Linked DNA regions of Homo sapiens: region 2 is linked to region 1. The links are contacts of gene promoters, found by promoter capture Hi-C in human tissues and cell types (Jung and others, 2019). All regions are on one chromosome and are shown on one strand. Each heading gives the region's core, a stretch centred on a gene start or on the middle of the fragment in contact. The rest is flanking DNA. Distances are from core to core; before and after follow the strand shown. Region 1 holds the start of PEX5L (peroxisomal biogenesis factor 5 like). Region 2 has its middle 89 kb from the start of LINC02053.

Region 1 (3,241 bases), core at 299-2,798:
TGATGTCCAAAGTAGTAAAAGGAAATTGTCCAAGGGTAACTACTAGTGGAATCTAATAGGAATCCATGTCTCCTGCTTACAGGTCTTAGTCCTTTTGTGTTTGTTTGGTTGGTTGTTTTAGGACCTCAGATGCATTGAATTGGTTCATTTCACATCCTTTTGTTCATTTCACATTCTCCTCATTAGTCCATACATGGTTCTATTTTATTTAGTTACACAGTAATTTTTAATAGGATATTAGGTGTCCTATGAATCACTACCCGGCATAGAAGATAAGACATTAACATCTAAACTTCAAGTGAAATGCTTCCCCATCTATTTCCCTGCCTCCCTTCACCCAGGGTCACCAACACTCTGAACACTATATTCATTGTTCCACTGCTTTCCTTTTTATATTGTTGTATATGAATATATGAATACACATTGACATTTCTAGGGATTTTTTAAACTTTATAAAAAGCATATTATGCTATATGCAATATTTTGGGGATATCATGCTGTACATAATATGAGGGGCCTGTAGAATTGGAGATGTTTTTACCAACAAAATTAGGTAATCACAGTATACACCACCCCGTGGTGTGTGTGTATATATGAACATTTATTGTGTAGACACATCAAACTACCCAGTCTCAACTTGAGACATATTTAAATGCACTCTTCATATATGTGTGTATGTGTGTGTAAGTGTATAGTAGTAAAGGTCTATTCATTCAGCAAATATTTATTGTGTGCCTGCCATGTGTCAGGAAGTACTAAATACCTTACTGTGCACACACGTGCAAAACCAAGTGCAACACTCCACCCCCCTAAAAAAAAGTCCCTGATCTCATGGAAATAACATTGTACAGAGGGAGAGACAGACAGTACATAAAATAAATATGGAAAATATAAAGGATGTTAGGTGATGTTACGTGCTAGGGAAAAAAATAAAACATGCCAGATCCTCAGGGACTAGGGTTTGCCGTTTTAAATAGAATGCTCGGCGATGAACTGGGGATGAGGGGAGCGGGGAGTCTTTATTTAACGGGTGATACGGACGTAACTTTCGAGAGCTGAATCAGAACCGAAGTAAACTCTTCGGCAACCCCTGCACTCAGCCTATAATGTCTGTAGGATAACAGGCTCAGCCGCGGTGGATGGCCCCCGGAGAGACGATGCATGTCTTCCCGCCTTTCTTCCGGCCGGCCATCCTCTCCGCTAGAATCGCCCTGCCCGCCGACGCCGCACCTGAACGCCGCGCTGCTGCGGGCGTTGTACACCAGCGCGACCACCGCCTGCCGGCACCTCGCCTTGCCGCCGCGCGCGCGCAGCCCCGAGGACGCGCTCGGGGAGCGCGCACCGCCCGGGGCCGCCCTCGGGCCGCTCCCAGGCCCCTGGGAACGCGCGCGCGTGCCCGGTCCCGCGGCCTCTCGGCAGGCACGCGGCTGGGAGAACGGCGCGCGCCCCGCTCGGCAGCTGCGGCGGCGGCTGGTGTAGGCGCTCACGTCAGGGCTGGGAGGAGGGGGTTCGCAGCTCAGAGAGAGAGAGACATGAGGCAACCTGGCAGGAAGCGAGAAAGAGTTCGGCGAAGAAGGAGTGAGTTCTAGAGACGCCCCGCGAGCAGGACCCGCGCCTGCAGGAGAGCCTGGCCGACCCGGCTCCTCGCCTTCTCTGCGCGCTCTCCCGCGTCCGCTTTCAGCACCCCGAGCGGAGAACAGTTCCCGGCAGCCCGCAGCGCTGCCGAGTGGCCGCCGGCCGGCCGAGTACCCGGAGCTCCAGGGGGCTCAGGAGCACCCTCTGAGAACCCGCTGTGCACCCACCTTTTCCCCTCTTTTGGTGGGCAAGTAAGCACGGGGGAAAAGCATCCGGTGGCCTCAGGGAGCCCTGAAGAAACCGAAGCAGAATGTACCAGGGACACATGCAGGTAAGACATTTCTATAGGGCTGGAGAGAATTCTTGGGGGCTAATTTAAGAGCAAGGCGGTTCACCAAGTTTCTGTGGTCAAGTGCTGCCTTCGCACAGCTCAACAAGTGAAGTGATGCAACATGACCGTGACATTTCTGTCCGGTGCTGCCGGGAAAACTAGACCGGTTTCCGAAGGTGGGAGAAGGGGAGGGAAGACCTCAGAACTTCGATTGGGGAAGTTTGTTTTCTGTGCATTCCCTGAGCCTGTTTCTTTAAACAGGATCAAGGAATCGAAACAGAGGAAACCCTAGAGATGACCGTGTTTCCGTTGTAATCCTATTGATGCATCTCAGCATGTATGTCAACTGAAGGGCAAACAATAATAGGAAAGACAAAGCTTTTCCTTTACCATCTGAAAAGGTTGCTTGACTTAGAACACTCTGTCACTTTCGTTTCATTTTTTAAAGTGTTATATTTAAAAAACGATTTATAGTGTATTTTCCCCCTTCACATTATGGGACATTGCCATCTACTCCAATAGTCACAGGATGACTTGGGAGGATGAATTTCAAACACATGTCCAAGGAGCTCTAATGTTTTTCAGGGGAGGTGCTGCCTCCGGTTGTTATTAATATTCATCTGAGCTGAGCCGCTGCTTCTTTCCGATGCAAACACACTCTACTCTCTTGGGCAAGATTACTTTAACCTTGACTCCAGTTCTCATTCATACGGTTGGTTGGTTCTTATAAAGGCAGATATATGCTTTGGGAGAAAAATAAAATACTAACTCAGCTTTCTAAAGTATGAACTGGACTCTTTATCGCACCTAAATGGTTTAGTCATCAGGTTTGATGTTTGGGCTTCCTTTCCATTCCAAAGATGGTCAAATACAATCATTATGTGTGATGCCTTTATCCTGGTGTATAACATTTATGAATACTGAGGATTTTGCTTCTGTGTCTTTTAGAGCAATTGGAAATAGATAAATATGTTGTTATATTTATGACTTAGTACTACCCAGATTTAATTTCCATAACTTAGGGAAATTCTTTTGGACTATAATCCATTTTTAAATAAAACACAATATTTCATCATAGTCTCAATTTTTATAAGAATTCTCAATATACAGTGCCAGAATTCCAAAAGATTTCCCGTATGACTAACATCATCCTGTTTTGAAAATTATTAATGTGATTATATCACATTTGATAGACAAAAAGTAGTGAATGAAGTATATTTTTAAATATTATATATGATCAATGTGATCTGCATGTTTCTTATAAAAGCTACACCAATTGAAAAGTTAAGTAACATAGAAGAATTCAAATAATGACTGCTGAAAAAATTAACAAAG
Region 2 (3,241 bases), core at 528-3,027, 290 kb before region 1:
ATAAATACTACCTAAGAGGAGGAGGAGAGGGCCTTCCTATGGGGTTTGTTTTCGTCCTCTTAAGTGCGTGTGGGGTTTGTCTTCCAAGCCATGAGCCTGGCCTGTCTTGCAGTGCTCTTCACTCAACAGGGTGTGACTGCAGCATGTTGCCTCCAGGGTCTGGCTTCTCAGAAGCCTCAAAGCATCCATCTCATCAGATGGACCAGAAACAAGAAAGTGGGGTGGGGTGAGTCACAGCTATCACTCAAACGAAAGAAAATTTTTTTTATTGCTCAGTCTTGTCAATTGGGAGTCCACCAGCAGATTCACTGAGACAATATGGGTAATTTCATACTTTTGTTTAAAAGCATATATATGGCTTATTCAGGCAAGGACACGTGTACATTCTAGCCCAAGCAAGCAATCGGAGTCATTCTGTTTTTAAGGAAGGCCAGTTGTTTAAAAGATTTCTAGTTTGAGCAACATCCTCTGTGGATGCACCAGGCCAAGGTGACTACCTCTGCCAACCCAGTGAGAAGGCCTTTGCTGGTCCCCGCGGTGAGGAACTGGTGGGAAGAGGCGGCCTCCTCCCTGCCGGCCTGCACTGCCCGGGGTGGGTGGACAGGCTCCACAGGCAGCCTCTGTCTGTGGCCAGACTAGGCCATCCTGGTGACTAGGGCTTATCAACTGTGGTTTAGAACTGCAGAAGGAGAGAGTTAGGAGGGTGGGCCAGGGAACACACACCAGGCGCCACTCTGGCCAGAGAACATGAGGCAGCTCCCCCACAGGGATCTGCACCAAGAAGGTGTGGAAGGCACAAGCAAGTGTGAAGGTACCAGAGATCCCAGAGGGTGCAGCTCACAGCGGCCACAGCAGGTGCAGCGCTGACCTGGTGTGGTTCCCCCCTTGAATGAGAAAGAGATCCTGATTCTGCTGTGATAAAAAAGCAAAGCAAGACGATTTATGGTTTAAAAAGAAGCCACTCGAGGGTTAAAATAGTTATTTTAAGTTAACAAAGAAAATTAATCTTTAAATAAGGTGACACTATCTGGAAAACTCATCTGTCCCTAAAGCCCACAATGCATCCACTGCTTCGTTCTCTTAATGGAACCTGAGCCTGACGCAAAGGAGTCAGACGGGTGACAGAGGAAGAGTCTGAGAAGAGAAGACACCTTTACAGAATGTACAGCAAGAAAGCCGGCCTGGCCCCCTGGTTACAGTAAGATGCACAGGTCCTTTCAGTCTCGCGGACTCCAGACGGCCGCGCGGGCTGCTCAGATGGACGTCTCCTTCCTGTCCCTGCTGGGTGATGGCTTCACCGGCTCTTTGCCTGCCTTTGGCTGCTCTTTAGCTTCTTTTGGCCTGAGGACACAGTCTCTGGGCGACTGGACGGCACCACCGCGCCACTCAGGCTCCTGGTCCTCCTGCACCTGCTGCTCAGCCTTGGTTCCCTCCATCTGGAGCAGCCGGAACTGTACGCGCAGCTCGATGATGACCTCGCGCTCCTCTTGAACTGCTTGATTCAAATGATTGCTCTTTATTTCCAGCTCTTCGTTCTGTCTCTGTAAATATTCCAGAATAATCTGCAGCTCCTCCTCATCCTCACTCTCGCTCTCGGAGGAGTACTCCTCAGTCTCACTTCGGCCGTGCTGCTGGTGACTCTGAATTTCAGCAATCTCGGCTCTGAGGCATCCCATCTCTTCTTTTTCTGAGGAAGTCTGCCGGCATAGAAACTGCTCCATGGTCAGGAGCTCCTCCTATTCAGTCAGGATCTCATTCTCCCAAGCAAGGAGAATATTTATAACTTCTTCATTTTCATTCATCTCTTCTTTGGAAACATCCTCTTTTAAAAGACTGGCTATCTTTTGTGTAATCTTGGTTTCACACTCCTGTCTTTAAGCGTCTCTCAGTTTTCTTTTGAGGGCTGTCAAAATTCTTTGGACTTTCCATAATCTTTCTTCTTTAGATAAATCCTTTATCCCACACTGCAGATATCGATGTAAACAATTCAAAAGAAAACCCTGTCTCCTGATCTCCTCCTTGATACCTGCCTGGGTCTCTGGCAGCGTGGGCATCGTGGCCATGTTAGACCATCGCAGAGGTTTCGTCGCTTGCTTTAGTACAACATTTCCAAAGAGTTCTTGCGCATGTGTGAAAAACACATACAGGACTCAATTGCTGATCTGCACAGTTGGGTTGAGCACTATAGAAATGTTCTGTTTATTCATTTTTGTTTCCAGTTCATTTGCAATGACATGGTCCATGTGCACAATGAGCCAAGAAATCAGAAGATAGTTACATTCTGGCAGTTCTTTGAGTAAACGCTGGAATTCCTGCACTTTCTCAGTCTCCGTGGTCCTCCCACAAGCTTCTTCAAATCTCGGCATAAGCTCTTTGGTAACCAAATTCTCTGGAAGGTCTCACAAATACTGCTTCAGCAAACTGGCTACAGTGTTAAGCTCATATTCTTCCAAGTTGGTAGACTCCTTCCGGTCATAGGCTGCTTTTAGCTCATCCACCTTTGATTCAATTCCTGATACTCTGTAGATGCCTTCGCATCATGCCATACTTCTCTAAGTGATCTATACATTCACAGAAAATGGCCGGCAGCCGAATGCCATCATACATCATGGTCCTCTCTACTGCATCAGCCAAAGGAATTCCAAAAATGGGTTTGAGATTTGGAACATCAATCTGAGGCACCTCTGGCTCCTGAATTGGTTTTTCTTTTTCTTCTTTTCCTTCCACTGTTTAACAACATCAGCTTCTGTCAGGTCTTTTGACTTCTTCTCTTTATGTTTTTCTTCTTTGTGCTTTTCTTCTTTATGCTTTTCTTCTTTGGGTTTCTGTTTTATTTTAAAATCCTTCTCTTTCTTTTTAGAAAAGCTGGGCTTCTTGAAAACATGGATTCCCTTGAGCCTCTTCATTTTGGAAGGACTTTCTGCCTCATCTCCAGAGCTATATTCCTGAAAGGCTGCATAGCCGTCAGTCCTCTTTTCCTTTTTCTTAAATTTTCCTTTTTTCTTCCCATGGTCTTTCTCATCATCAGGCACTATATCAGGAGGCTTATGGAGGATGCCATGGGGACGTGAGGGCTGGCCAGTGCGGTACAGTCCAGGAAACTTAGTAGGACTGATCTCTTCAGAGCTGGGGGTCTGGGTAAGCCCGCTGCCATGCTCCATCCTGCGGTGTTCACTGGCGCTGCTGGTGGGGGCAGGAAGCATTCAGTCTTGCTAATGCCCTGACTAGGAAGGGAGGAGGT

The links. Contacts are between HindIII fragments. The study calls those that stand out against the background at their distance.
Region 2: a fragment that was not itself captured here is called in contact with the fragment with the promoter of PEX5L in region 1 in 1 of the 25 tissues and cell types used here (thymus).

What each region holds. Positions count from the first base shown.
Region 1 is chr3:180,035,244-180,038,484 of GRCh38, reverse strand. PEX5L (peroxisomal biogenesis factor 5 like) reads left to right here and starts at 1,548. Exons shown (of 15, transcript NM_016559.3): 1 at 1,548-1,906. The coding sequence starts at 1,886. RefSeq lists a silencer at 1,433-1,482. The HindIII fragment of the contact is 6,291 bases long and covers 1-3,007 here.
Region 2 is chr3:180,323,077-180,326,317 of GRCh38, reverse strand. It overlaps the pseudogene RALBP1P1. Among named protein-coding and RNA genes, the nearest start is that of LINC02053, 89 kb to the left of the region's middle. The HindIII fragment of the contact is 6,414 bases long and covers 1-3,241 here.